Linked DNA regions of Homo sapiens: all the other regions are linked to region 1. The links are contacts of gene promoters, found by promoter capture Hi-C in human tissues and cell types (Jung and others, 2019). All regions are on one chromosome and are shown on one strand. Each heading gives the region's core, a stretch centred on a gene start or on the middle of the fragment in contact. The rest is flanking DNA. Distances are from core to core; before and after follow the strand shown. Region 1 holds the start of PHYHIP (phytanoyl-CoA 2-hydroxylase interacting protein). Region 2 overlaps BIN3 (bridging integrator 3). Region 3 overlaps CCAR2 (cell cycle and apoptosis regulator 2). Region 4 overlaps PPP3CC (protein phosphatase 3 catalytic subunit gamma). Region 5 overlaps PPP3CC (protein phosphatase 3 catalytic subunit gamma).

Region 1 (2,609 bases), core at 71-2,570:
ACAGTTTTCCCTCTTCAATCTGTCACCTCCATGCACACCCAGACATGTTCATGTCCACAGGCTCACGCACACACACGTCCACGCACACCGCCTCACAAGCCATATGTGGGGAAAAGAGGATGCCACAGGCACCAACATGCATGTGTGCCACCTCCACAAGAAGGCACGCAACCCACACGCCTGCCGGCACACACATGTGTGTTCATACACACAGCAGCCCCCGCCCGAAGTCTGGTATTCTCTCTCGAATCATCTCCAGGCTCAAAGACAGACTTTGAAAATGTGTTTGCCTCTGGCCACACTCTGCCAGCCCTGAGCCTTCATGCCAACAGGTTTGTGCACCTACGTGGCTCTGCCCACAGACAATGGTTTCTGCCCCTTCTTCTCTTTACCCACTCCATCCTGCTCTGGGTCTCACCTCCCCATATAGAAAGCCCCTGTCTGCATACACTCCCACACACATGAAAAGGGACATGGTTACCCCTAAATATACTGCCTCATAGTGTCCCCACCCACGCACACCCACAGGCTACTCAAATAAGTCCCCCACACACATGTACCTCACGTGTGCCAGAAAGATATGTTTCTAGACATGCCTCACACCATTCAAAACCCACACATGAGCATGACTGCGGACAGACGGACCTATCTGCGCCAGCAAGCCTCCAGCCAACTCGCGAGCGCGCACACACACACGCCGCGCACACCGGTGCCCCTTCCCCATGCCCATTCAAACAGCCACCCTGCCACAGGGAATGCTTCCCCCACCCTGCTGTCCCTGTTGGCATCGCTGACTGCAGCAGAACGGTCACGGGGTGACTAACTGTGGTGCCCCAGAGACTGGATTCAGCCATTAACCACTTTGCCAAAGGCCTGGCCGGGGGGGGGGAGAGGGGACAAGGTCGTCAGGCCTGGCAGTCCAGGTGGGCACCCTGGGTGGTGGCAGGACCCTAGAGCCCCCAGATCCCGGCTACTCAGGATCAACAGCAGCAGGTTCCAGGGAGGAAGGGTACTCACCTGGCTCCACTGGGCTCTGCAGAGGAAAAGCTCGCAGGGAGGACAGGGAGAGACCTCTGCGTGGATGAGCTCCCCGGCAGGGGACAGCAGCCGGACGCCTGGGTCACGGGCAGTGGCGTGCGCTTGCTCCTCTCCCGGCTGCCAAGGAGGCTGCTTCCATGCCCCGCAGCCAGCTCCTGTCTGGCTGTGCAGCGCGTCGCTGCTGCCCCTGGTGAGACGATGTTCCCAGCTGAGCAGCGCAAGAAGAGAGGCAAGAGCGAAATCAAAGCAGCGTGGAGGAGAGAGAGGCAGAGAAGGGAGAAAGAACGAGAGAGCCAGACCGAATCTGCCTCCACCAATGGGATCAGCGGCTGCGCAGCGTCAGGTGATAATAAGCAGGCTTGGTCCCTGCTCGCCGGGCTGGTGGGAGGGGGAAAGGGCAGAGGGTCTCCCAGGGAGCTACACAGATGTCCTCAGGGACAGCAACACACGCCGCCTTTCCCCCATTCTTCCAGGACAAGCTGCCCTCAGAAGTCCCTCCAACACACCCCCTACTTGGAAATCTCTGACTTGAATGCAGCCCCCAAACTTTAGGATGCTGGGAGAGGGGTGGAGCTTAGCCAAGGGCTTGGGCCCCAAAGCAAAGACTCTGATTGGGGGAAGGGGAGGGAGGCTGTAGAGGGGAAAGGTCCAGATGGGGGGTGTGAAGCTGGGGTGGCTGTCTTCAGTCCGGAGCCTCTCCTTGGGGCCTTTTGGTGAACTGTGGTTCCATTTTCTTACCAACTCTAGAGAGAGATGGCAGACCTGCAGCTCAGGGATCCCTGTGGGTCTGGCAAGAACCCTCTGGCAGCTTGGGGGTCCACAGGAAAAGGGGCTGGGAGAGAGGCTGTGGCACAGTGCAGGGTGCACAGGGGTAAGAAAATGGGGGTGGGAGAACACACCAAGCTCTGAGTGTCCTCAGCCCACCCCACTCTCTGAGCACAAAGGAAGCCGGCCCTGGGCATCTTGGGGAGAGAATGTAATTCTGCTCTCACGGCAGCAGGAGGCTGTTCTGCCATCAAGAAGCAGACTCCGTGGAGGCCATCGGGAAGAACATCCAAGGAAATGTGAGTCCAGCAGCAAGCAGGGACAGAGGGTTGCGCAGTGGTGAAAAGCACAGGCTCACAGTCAGATGGATGTGCTGAGAATCCCTGCTCTACTGCTACCCAGCTGGGGGACCTTGGACAAGCCACTCAACCTCTCTTCATCTGTCAAGTGGGATCACACAGGTTTATTGTCATCATGGAATGAAATAATTAGGTAAATCGCCCAGCCCTGGGCCTGGCACATCAGAAGTGCCAGTCACATGTCAGAACTGTTCTTGTTCCCATCATATCGACAGCATCTTCCTGCAAGGAGCCCACAGTCCTCTACGGGAGAGAAGATGGCCATTTAGAGGATGCAATTAGAGAATGAGGAGCACACAACTAAATCGTAGGGCACAGATACTCATTCAGAGAAAGAACAATGGGCGGCTCCAGGGCACGTGCAGGGTGCAGGCCAGAGGAGGCTGTGGAAGCAGGAGTGCGGCTGGGGTGGGGAGGATTGGCACGGGGGCAGCTGACACCAGGCAG
Region 2 (2,609 bases), core at 71-2,570, 420 kb after region 1:
CTGTGATTTCTTGTTTTACTAACATTTTCCAAAGATGTCTTTACAACGTACAGTTAAAACAGTATACTCCCAATTCACCCTTCCTTAGTTCCATCCCCCAAAAAAGCCTGGGCTACCCCAGGATTGCCTGACATGAGGGATAGTATGAAGAAGTAAAAGCAGGAATGAAGACAGAGGTTTTCCTAACTCGCTGCAATGTAAACACTTTATGTTTCAGTTTACCACAACATAGGCATGCCTAGGGTTCCTTCCAGGGTCTTGGGAAAGGTCCATTTAAGTTGGGACCCTGAGGCTGAAGCTTTGTAAGTTTCACACCTTAAATCCACCTTTGTGTCCCCTGGTACAGAATTCTTTGGAGGTGGGGGTTGGGGTGTAGGACTCTTCATTCTTCTGCTAGGGTGGGGTGGGGTGGGGACAGTCTCCCAGTGATAAGCAGTTAGGGAGATGTTAGGGCTCTAAACTATTCATAGTTTTCAACCAATCACCCTGATCTCAGCCCTTGGCTTCACCTAACTTCTAGAGGTACTTAGTACCAACTCCCAAACCTTTGAGAATTCTGGGATGTAAGGTGGGATGGCTCTTGGTTTTCTCAAACGCCAGTTTGGGACTTGACTTTCTTGGAACTAAGTCAGTTACCTCATGTAACTGCACCCTAATTCCCAAATTTTGTTGTTGATGTCTCTTCTATTCTCCCTGAACTATGGATTTATGCCTTAAAAAACTGCTTTACTGTGCTTTTTGTAGGATTTGTGAGGGAGATAAATTAGATGTATGTATTCAATCTGTCATCTTTACTCAGAATCTGGTTTATTTTTAAATAACATACCATAACATTCACCCTTTTAAAGTGTACAATTTGGGGTTTTTAGTATATTCCCAGAATTGTGCAAAAATCACTGCTATCTAATTTCAGAACATTTTCATCACACCAAAAAGAAACCCCACACCTATTAGCAAACAACTCCCCTCCTCCAGCCCTGGCAACCATTACTTTGCCTTCTTTATGGATTTGCCTTTTCTGGACATTGCACAGAAGTAGAATTATATTTGTATGTGGCCTTTTGTGTCAGCCTCCTTCACTTAGCAAAATGTTTTTGAAGGTCATCCATGTCATAGCATATATCAGTACTTCATCCTTTTATTTTTTTAATCACTGAATACTAGTTCAGTGTATGGATTTATATTTTGTTTATCCACTTATCATTTGATGGACAATTGGGTTGTTTTCCCTTTTTGGGTATTAATGAATGCTGTGACAAACATTTATGTTCAAGATTTTGTGTGGATATGTTACTTCTCTTGGGCATATATCTAGGAGCAAAACTGCTGGGTCATATGGTCACTCTATGTTTAACCTTTTGAGGATGTGCCAGACTGTTTTCCAAAGTAATTGTATCATTTTACATTCCCACCAGTGGTATATAAGGGTTCCAATTTCTCCACATCCTTGCCAACACTGTCTTTTTCATTTTAGCCATCCTAGTGGGTATGAGGTAGTATTTCTGATGTGCATTTCTCTAATGACTAATGACGTTAAGCGTCTTTTCATGTGTTCATTTGTATATCTTTGGAGAAACATCTATTCAAATCCTTTGCTCATTCTAAAACTTTTATTATTATTGTTGTTGAGTTGTAAGAGTTCTTTATATATTCTGGGTATTAGCCCATAATCAGAAATATTTTCTCTCATCCATGGGCTGGGTTTCCACTTTCTTAATGGTGTCCTTTGAAGCAGAAAGTTTTAAATTTTGATGAAGTCCAATTTATCTGTTTTTTCTTTTGTTGTTCATGCTTTTGGTGTCATATGTAAGAATCCTTTGACAAATCCAAGGTCATGAAGATTTACTCTTGTCTTTTCTTCTAAGAGTTTTATAGTTTAGCTCTTACATTTAGGTCATTGATCCATTTTGAGTTAATTTTTAAATATGGTGTGAGGTAGGGGTCCAACTTCATTCCTTGGCAAGTGGCTATCCATTTGTCCCAGCACTGTTTGTTGAAGATTATTCTTTTTCCGCTGAACTGTTCTGGCATCTTTGTTACAAATCAATTGTCCATATATGTAAGGGTTTATTTCAATTCTATTCCATTCATCTACATGTCCATCTTGATAACAGCACCACACAACCTTCATTACTGTAGCTTTGTAGTATTAAGACTGGGGAGTGTGAGTTCTCCAGCTTTGTTCTTTGTCAAGATCATTTTGACTATTGTGTGTCCCTTGCATTTCCACGTGAATTTTAGTGGTTTATTTTTTATATTTAAATCTTTGCTGCATTTAGAGTTTGAGTGTATGACTAGTCCATTGTTTTAACATAGTTTTTAAAAATTCCACCTTTGAAAAGTTATTTTATCAGCATTAAATGCATCTACTATTCCATACCACAGAGTAATCTACCCTTTTGCCAATAACACAGATTTATTTAGATGTATAAAAGTTCCTGATACTTAGCAAAGCAAATCCCTTCTCATTAAAAATTTTTTTCCAGGTAATTTCTTGGCTGTTTTAATTATTCAAGATAAATTTCACTAGCTGTGTGCTCTCACCCCCACACCTAAAAACCCCTGATAAGGATATTACCAGAAGTGCAATATATTTATAGATTAACTTT
Region 3 (2,609 bases), core at 110-2,609, 380 kb after region 1:
GTTTTAGGCTTTTGAACTTTTTGTTACTGATTTGTGAGTTCCTTTATATTAAGGCAATGACCCATTTCTCTGTCATGTGTTATAAGTGTTTTCTTTTTTCCCTTTCCCAGTTTGACTTTTGCCATCTAGAGTTTGTAAATTAAGTGGTCAGATCTGATCTAGCTTCCTTGAGAGGTGCCTTACTTCAAAAGTTCTCAGACTGAAAAAAAATTCGCCCATTTTTTCAAATCTTTGATGGTTTCATTTCGAATGTTTTAGTCTTTGCTCAGTCTGGATTCCCTTGCTGTCTTCCTGTAGCCCCATCTGTGACTTCCTAGAACTCCAGCGCCGTTACCGCAGCCTCCTGGTCCCCTCAGATTTTCTGTCCGTGCATCTGAGTTGGCTATCAGCCTTCCCCCTGAGCCAGCCCTTTTCCCTCCATCATCCAAGCCGGATCCAGGTCTCTTCTGAAAAGGAGGCAGCTCCAGACGCTGGTGCTGAGCCCATCACTGCAGACAGTGACCCCGCTTATAGTTCGAAGGTAAGCTGACAGGCGTCTCTCACTTATCTGATTTCTGGAGGCTGAAGGCAGCTCTGAGTGTCTCCTCCTGCACAGGTACTGCTGCTCTCTTCCCCGGGGTTGGAGGAATTGTATCGTTGTTGCATGCTCTTTGTGGATGACATGGCTGAGCCAAGGGAGACGCCAGAGCATCCTCTGAAGCAGATTAAGGTAAGAGCTGGAGAGCAGGAGGAGATGCATTCACGGGTAATGTGCACAACCTGTCATGTTTTGAGTGTTCGGCTCCTGTTCCTGAATGCATAAAACGAGGCATCTCAGAGCCGAACACCCCTCATTTCACCCAGGAGGAAGGTGCAGCTCAGAGCTGTTACGACTAGTCAGAGAGAGCGAGGTGGCTGGTTCATGTTTGCAGATAGAGACCTCACTGTGTGGTGGACTTCCCCACTTCCGGCTGCCTTCATCCTGATGGGTGGCAGCCTTGCCCTGCAGTGGGAGACCCAGGTAATGTAGTTTTTTGTTTTGTATCCCTGATCTCTTCTTGCAGTTTTTGCTGGGCAGGAAAGAAGAGGAGGCAGTGCTGGTTGGGGGTGAATGGTCTCCTTCCCTGGATGGCCTCGACCCCCAGGCTGACCCGCAGGTGCTGGTGCGTACCGCCATCCGCTGTGCGCAGGCCCAGACTGGCATTGATTTGAGCGGCTGTACCAAGTGGTGAGTGGGCTTCCTGAGCCTCAGCTGCACCAACGCACCAGGTTGGGGAGGTTTTGTTGGGAAGGCCCGGTCCCTGCCCCTTTCTGCTGGTTAGCTCTCTGCCCCCTAGTCCCGTTCCTTCCCCCTCTGGTGCCTCAGGGTAGGGTGGGGTGTATGCCAAAATCTGGCTGAGCCACCAGGCTGCACTTGAGACTCCCTGGAGTTGTCCTTGCACCTTGTAGGGTGCTTGTGTGGTTGCGGCCTCCCCACTGACTGATCATTTCTTGAGGACTTGGTCTGTAGCTTTCCTGTTGTGTCTTCAAAGCTTGGTTCGCAGTGTGTGCTCATTGAGTGCTGACTGGAAACTGAAGCCCTTGCCTGTGAACGTGGTGTCTGCGTGGAGTTGTCACTAAAGAAGTTAGTACCTCCTTTTGCCATGTGCAGGTGGCGCTTTGCCGAGTTTCAGTACCTGCAGCCGGGACCCCCCCGGCGGCTTCAGACAGTGGTGGTGTACCTGCCGGATGTCTGGACCATCATGCCTACTTTGGAGGAGTGGGAGGCCCTGTGCCAGCAGAAAGCTGCAGAGGCAGCTCCCCCAACCCAGGAGGCACAAGGGGTAAGGCTGTGCCTTAGCCAGCAGCGGGGGATATAGGTGGCCTAATCCCGGGACCCAGAGGGTCTCATTTCAGCTGTTGTCACAGGAAACGGAGCCTACTGAACAGGCACCTGATGCCTTGGAGCAAGCAGCAGACACTTCTAGACGGAACGCAGAAACTCCAGAGGCCACCACACAGCAGGAAACGGACACTGATCTCCCAGAGGCCCCTCCACCCCCCCTAGAACCTGCTGTCATCGCACGCCCTGGCTGTGTAAACCTGTCCCTCCATGGGATTGTGGAGGATCGGAGGCCAAAGGAAAGGATCTCTTTTGAGGCAGGTGTCAAGAGTCTTGGGGAGGCTGTGGGCTGGGATTTGTGGGCCTGAAGCAGTCTTTCTTCCTGATGCTCATGGACCCTCCCACCTCCCCATCAGGTGATGGTGCTGGCCGAGCTGTTTCTGGAGATGCTCCAGAGGGATTTTGGCTATAGAGTTTATAAGATGCTACTGAGCCTTCCTGAAAAGGTCGTGTCCCCACCTGAACCTGAGAAGGAGGAGGCGGCCAAGGAAGAAGCCACCAAGGAGGAAGAAGCCATCAAAGAGGAGGTGGTCAAGGAGCCCAAGGATGAGGCACAGAATGAGGGCCCGGCTACAGAGTCAGAGGCCCCGCTGGTGAGTACCCTGCCACCTCGGGCTGTCATAGTGCTTACCGTGACCGCGCACCTTTACCCCGGGCTCTGTTCCGAGCGCTTCCTGTGCCTTAGCTCATTCCCTGCACCCTTGCTCGGCATGGACTGAGGCCGCACAGCTAGTAAGTAGCACACCTA
Region 4 (2,609 bases), core at 56-2,555, 310 kb after region 1:
GGAGTCTCAGTTCCACCAGCTCATTGGCTAACTGGAGCATTAACTAAAAAAGACCTTTTATTGTTCATATAACTTAACTTGGAGAGCTTTCAACCAACAGTATCCCATATGGCCATGTAACATACATTCATGTATGTCTCACCTTGATCTAAGAGGGATTGGCGTGAGTTACAGTATACATGAAACATAGTGGAGTAAAATAAATATGCTTGGAAATTGAAGCACAAAGGTAAATAAAAATAAAGCCAATAGCCACAAATTTGACTCTAAGCATCCCAGTAGCCAAAATAGTGGGGAAAGCCAAGGACAGGACAAGATTCACAAAGACCATCAGATTAAAACAGATCAGTTATAAATTGGACTACATCAAAATTAAAAACTCTGTACTGCAAATGGTACTATCAAGAAAATGAAAAGACATCCCACAGAATGGTTGAAAATGTTTTCAAATCATATATCTCCTAAGAGATTGGTATCTAGAAAATATACTCTTACAACTGAATAAGAAGACAACCCAGTTAAAAATGGGTAAAGAATTGAATTGACATTTTTCCCATGAAGACATACAAATGGCACATGAAATGATGTTTGACATCATTAGACATTCAGAAAATGCTAATCAAAACCACAATGGGATACCACTTCACAGTCAGTAGGATGGCTGTGAAAAGACAGCAGTTAATAAGAAGTGTTGATGAGAATGTGGAGAAATTGGGACCTTCTTAACACTGCTGGTGGAAATGTAAAATGGTACAGCTGCTTTGGAAAACATTCTGACAGGTCTTCAAATGATTAAACATAGAATTGACTTATTACTCAGCAATTCCAGTCATAGCTACATACCCCACAAAGAAATGAAAATATGTCCTCGCAAAAACTTGTACACAAATGTTCATAAATGGCATTCAACATAATAGCCAAAAAGCAGAAAAAAGCAATTGTCCATAAACTGGATAAACAAAATGTGGTAAACGCAATGGAATACTATTCAGCCATAAAAAGGAATTAAATGCAGGTATACATGTCAACATGACTGAACCTTGAAAACATTATGCTAAGTGAAAGAAGTCAGTCACTACAGACCACATATTATATGATGCCACTCATTTGAAATGTCCAGAACAGACCAATCTAGAGAGAAAGTAGATTCGTGTTCAACCAGGATTAAGGGGAAGAGGTGAGGGAAGGAAATGGGAAGTGAGTGCTAATAAGTGGGGGATTTCTCATTGGGGCAATGAAAATATTCTAAGCACAGATTGTGGTGATGGTTGCACAGCTCTACTATATTAAAACCATTGACTTGTATACTTTAAACAAGTGAGTTTTGTGGTATATGAATTCTATTTCAGTTAAGATGTTAAAAAGGAAAACAAAAGTTCGGGTCATTTGATATGACTGTTTCTTATAATGGCCCTTACTGCAGGCTGCTATCTTTATACCCAATGTGAATAGCAATTCTGGGAGGGCCCCAAACAAGGTAATATCATACACATTTTACCGTGTAGCTTTTAAGCTCTAATTAGACCAACACTCAGTGTAGAGTTTCAGCAATGCTTTGTTCTCCCACTTCCTAACAGTTACATCAGTGATGTGCTGTGAGAAGGCACTGTAGCTTTCTTGTCAAGGGTATTTGTTCTACTTAAGGAGATTAGAGAGGGTGTGACAGTGATTTAATACATGCCTGCCTATGGTTGACAAATGAAAGCACTTCATAAGTAGATTTCAGTTATCCATTTTTCACATTCCATTAGGTAGTTAATGTAGTTCTTTCAGTTTCTCTTCTCATATTGATATATAAAGCCTTGGGAATAGCAGCAAACTGTTACTGCTCATTATTCTTCACTGCCTTCTTTTGGCAAATTGGTACTGGAGTAACTGACAGGGTTCTCCTAATAGGATCTTTCTTGTGGCACCCTGTACCTTTTCATATATTAGCGTTTTTACTGTCTGAGAAAGGAGATGCAAGGAAGTTTACCTGTTGGTACTAATTTTTAAGTTGCTTCCTTTTCCATTGCTAAGAAAGAAGAGGGCTTTCTTAGTTACTGGCCAACTCTCTTGAACACTGTATGGAAGCCATATGGATTGGAAACATTAGCCTCTGCTATATTTTTATAGCAGATGGGTACACACATTTGCATTAGGAATTCAATAGTTCTATGCTTTTGTTAGCTTTGTACTCCACTCCTGGACAAGAAATAACCCTTCACATGGAACCTATTTTTCTCTCCTTCCAAATGCCAGTCTGCTGTTCAAAGGCCACTCTTTTTTTTTTAAATGAAGTAATTAATAGGGCAGTTGGACTCCAAATAAGTCACTTGAGAGCAGTAAGATGTAGTTGTAAATAAGCTTTTTGAATAGGACCCAGCAGTAGCTCATTTAATATCACCTGAGATATTTTACAAACTAAGGATTGTTGTGATGTCAAACTATTTGATTCTACATGTTGTTTCGATACGTGGATATCAAGATATAAAGTAGCAGTTGGCTACCTAAAATGAAAAGAGCAATGTTCCATGGCACCTGAAATGTTAAAAATATTAGAAACTCTCCCCCACCCCATATTCCTCCCACCCCAATTGAGTCTCTCGCAATAATCTTCTCGCTTCTCT
Region 5 (2,609 bases), core at 75-2,574, 280 kb after region 1:
TCCCTTTTCTCGACATCCTCACCAGCATTTGTCATTGCCTGTCTTTTGGATAAAAGTCATTTTAACTGGGTGAGATGATATCTCATTGAAGTTTTGATTTGCATTTCTCTGATGATCGGTGATATTGAATACCTTTTCATATACCTGTTTGCCATTTTATGTCTCCTTTTAAGAAATGTCTATTCAGATATTTTGCTCATTTTTAAATTGGATTATTGGATTTTTCCTATTGAATTGTTTGAGCTCCTTACATATTCTGGTTATTAATCTCTTGTCAGATGGATAGTAAAAAGTCTTTTTTTCTTTCTTCTTCTTTATTTTATTTTATTTTATTTTATTTTATTTTATTTTATTTTGAGACAAGGTCTCTCTTTGTTACCCGGGCTGGAGTGCAGTGGCACCATAACAGCTCACTACAGCCTCAACCTTCTGGACTCAAGCAGTCCTCTTGCCTCAGCCTCCTGAGTAGCTGGAACTATGGGCATGTGCCACCATGCCCAGCTGCTTTTTTTATTTTCTGTAGAAACAAGGTCTTGGCTGTTTTGCCCAGGCTGGTCTTGAAGTCCTAGACTCAAGTGACCCTCCCTACTTGGCCTCCCAAAGTGCTGGGATTACAGGGATGAGCCCCACCCAGCCAACAACCATTTTTCATTCCTCCATGCCAACTTTTCCAGTGACTAATGTGATGAAATCATTTAACTTTTATTTCTTTTTACATTGCTTAAAATAAAGAGCATAATACATATTCATTGTTGTCAGAATAGAAATTGGTACAATTTCTGTGGACATCAACTTGGCAATATCTTTCAAAGGTATTTGTACATGGCCTTTGATCCAGAAATTCTACTTCTAAAACTTAATCCTGTAGATATATAATTGATTCTCATTACTTGTGGATTTCATATTTGTGAATTCCCCCACTTACTAAGATGTATTTGTAACACCCAAATCAGTACTTACAGAGGTTTCATAATCATTCATGGGAATGTAGTGTGCAATGCAACAAAAAATTTGAGTCACCTCACTCACATGTTCCTAGCTGAGGTTGAACAAAATGATGCCCTACCTTCTTTTTGCAGCCCTCATGTTGTAAACAGGCATTCTTTTGAGTTTTATTTAGTGAAAGATGTTTTATGTTTTTGTGCTTTTCATGAGTGATTTCACTGTTTAGAATGGCCACCAAGTGTAGTGCTGAAGTGCTGCTGTCTAGGGTCCCTAAGCACAAAAAGGCTGTGGTATGTCTTACAGAGAAAATATGCGAGTGTTAGATATAAGCTTTGTTTAGGCATGAGTTATGGTGGTTTTGGCCATGAGTTCAATGTTAATGAATCAACAGTGTAAATGACCTAAAGTATTATTACACAGAAACACATCTGAAACAAGGTTATATATTAATTGGTGGGTGAAAATGTTATGACCGGAGCCTCACAGGAACTTCACCCTGTATTTCCCTTAGCAGTAGTGTTTCATTATTTGCTAATTCTGTTTTTGCAGCAACATTATAGAATGTAGCTACTGGGAATAATGAGATAAAAAATTTGACTCACCCAGCACACATGTTCCCAGCTGAGGCTGAACAAAGTGATACTCTGCCTTCTTTTATCCCAGGGATAAATCCCATTTAGCCACAGTATATAATACTTTTAGTATGTTGTTGAGTTTGGCTTTCTAGTGTTTTATGGAGGATTTAAAAATCTATGTTCATCAGAGATACTCACCTGTACTTTTCTTTCTTCTGGTGTCTTTGGCTTTGGTATCAGAGTGATGCTGGCCTCATAATGTGAGTTTGGAAGAATTCTCTCTTCTATTTTTTGGAAGGTTTAAGAAAGATTGGTATTAATTCTTTTTTTTAATGATTAATAGAATTCACCCATGAAACCATCTGGTCCTGTGCTTTTCTTTGTTGAGAGCTGTTTGATTACTGATTCCATCTCCATATTTGCTATTGGTCTGTTTGGGCTTTCTATTTCTTCATGATTCAGTTTTGGCAGGTTGTATATTTCCAGACTCTATCCATTTCTTCTGGGTTTTCCAGTGTTTTGGTGTGTGATTATTCGTAATAGTCCGTTATGATCCCTTTTATTTCTGAGGCATCTATTGTAATGTCTCCTCTTTCATTTTTTGTTTTATTTATTTGAGTATCTCTTTTTTTCTTAGTCTTGCTAAGGGTTTGTCAATTTTGTTTAGTTTTTCAAAAACCAACTCTTAGTTTTGTTGACTTTTTTCTGTTGTTTTTCTATTCTCTATTTGATTCATTTCTGCCCTAAACTTTCCTTTCTTCTGCTTACTTTGGGCTTATTTGATTCTCCTTTTTCTAGTTTCTTGAAGTGTAAAATAAGGTTGTTTAATTCAGATCTTTTTTGTTTTTTAAATCGGCATTTATTACTATAAACTTTCCTGTAGGTACTGCTTTTGCTGCATCCCATACATTTTGATATGTATATTTTTGTTTTCATTTATCTTGAGGTTTTTTTTTTTTTAGATAGGATGTTTTGCTCTGTCACCCAGGCTCAATGCAGTGGCACAATGATACCTCACTGCAACCTTGAACTCCTGGGCTCAAGCAGTCCTCCTGCCTCAGCCTCCTGAGTAGCTGGGACTACAGGATG

What was found. The method cuts DNA at HindIII sites, captures the fragments that hold promoters and counts their contacts. A contact is called where the count stands out against the background at its distance.
Region 2: a contact is called between a fragment that was not itself captured here and the fragment with the promoter of PHYHIP in region 1, in 1 of the 25 tissues and cell types used here (dorsolateral prefrontal cortex).
Region 3: a contact is called between a fragment that was not itself captured here and the fragment with the promoter of PHYHIP in region 1, in 5 of the 25 tissues and cell types used here (H1 embryonic stem cells, bladder, dorsolateral prefrontal cortex and 2 more).
Region 4: a contact is called between a fragment that was not itself captured here and the fragment with the promoter of PHYHIP in region 1, in 1 of the 25 tissues and cell types used here (hippocampus).
Region 5: a fragment that was not itself captured here is called in contact with the fragment with the promoter of PHYHIP in region 1 in 1 of the 25 tissues and cell types used here (liver).

The regions. Positions count from the first base shown.
Region 1 is chr8:22,230,779-22,233,387 of GRCh38, forward strand. It overlaps PHYHIP (phytanoyl-CoA 2-hydroxylase interacting protein), which reads right to left and starts at 1,321. Exons shown (of 5, transcript NM_014759.5): 1 at 1,018-1,321. RefSeq lists enhancers at 1-25, 951-1,698. The HindIII fragment of the contact is 22,356 bases long and covers 1-2,609 here.
Region 2 is chr8:22,653,530-22,656,138 of GRCh38, forward strand. All of the region lies in intron 1 of BIN3 (bridging integrator 3), which reads right to left. Among named protein-coding and RNA genes, the nearest start is that of BIN3-IT1, 13 kb to the left of the region's middle. The HindIII fragment of the contact is 8,304 bases long and covers 1-2,609 here.
Region 3 is chr8:22,613,795-22,616,403 of GRCh38, forward strand. CCAR2 (cell cycle and apoptosis regulator 2) reads left to right here. Exons shown (of 21, transcript NM_001393997.1): 9 at 298-520; 10 at 596-709; 11 at 1,044-1,207; 12 at 1,631-1,802; 13 at 1,888-2,118; 14 at 2,218-2,454. Among named protein-coding and RNA genes, the nearest start is that of CCAR2, 10 kb to the left of the region's middle. The HindIII fragment of the contact is 7,299 bases long and covers 1-2,609 here.
Region 4 is chr8:22,536,721-22,539,329 of GRCh38, forward strand. The region is part of intron 12 of PPP3CC (protein phosphatase 3 catalytic subunit gamma); the gene reads left to right. The region is part of intron 1 of LOC124901905 (a long non-coding RNA gene); the gene reads right to left. Among named protein-coding and RNA genes, the nearest start is that of SORBS3, 14 kb to the right of the region's middle. The HindIII fragment of the contact is 5,260 bases long and covers 1-2,609 here.
Region 5 is chr8:22,515,601-22,518,209 of GRCh38, forward strand. The region is part of intron 6 of PPP3CC (protein phosphatase 3 catalytic subunit gamma); the gene reads left to right. All of the region lies in intron 1 of LOC124901905 (a long non-coding RNA gene), which reads right to left. Among named protein-coding and RNA genes, the nearest start is that of SORBS3, 35 kb to the right of the region's middle. The HindIII fragment of the contact is 3,233 bases long and covers 1-2,609 here.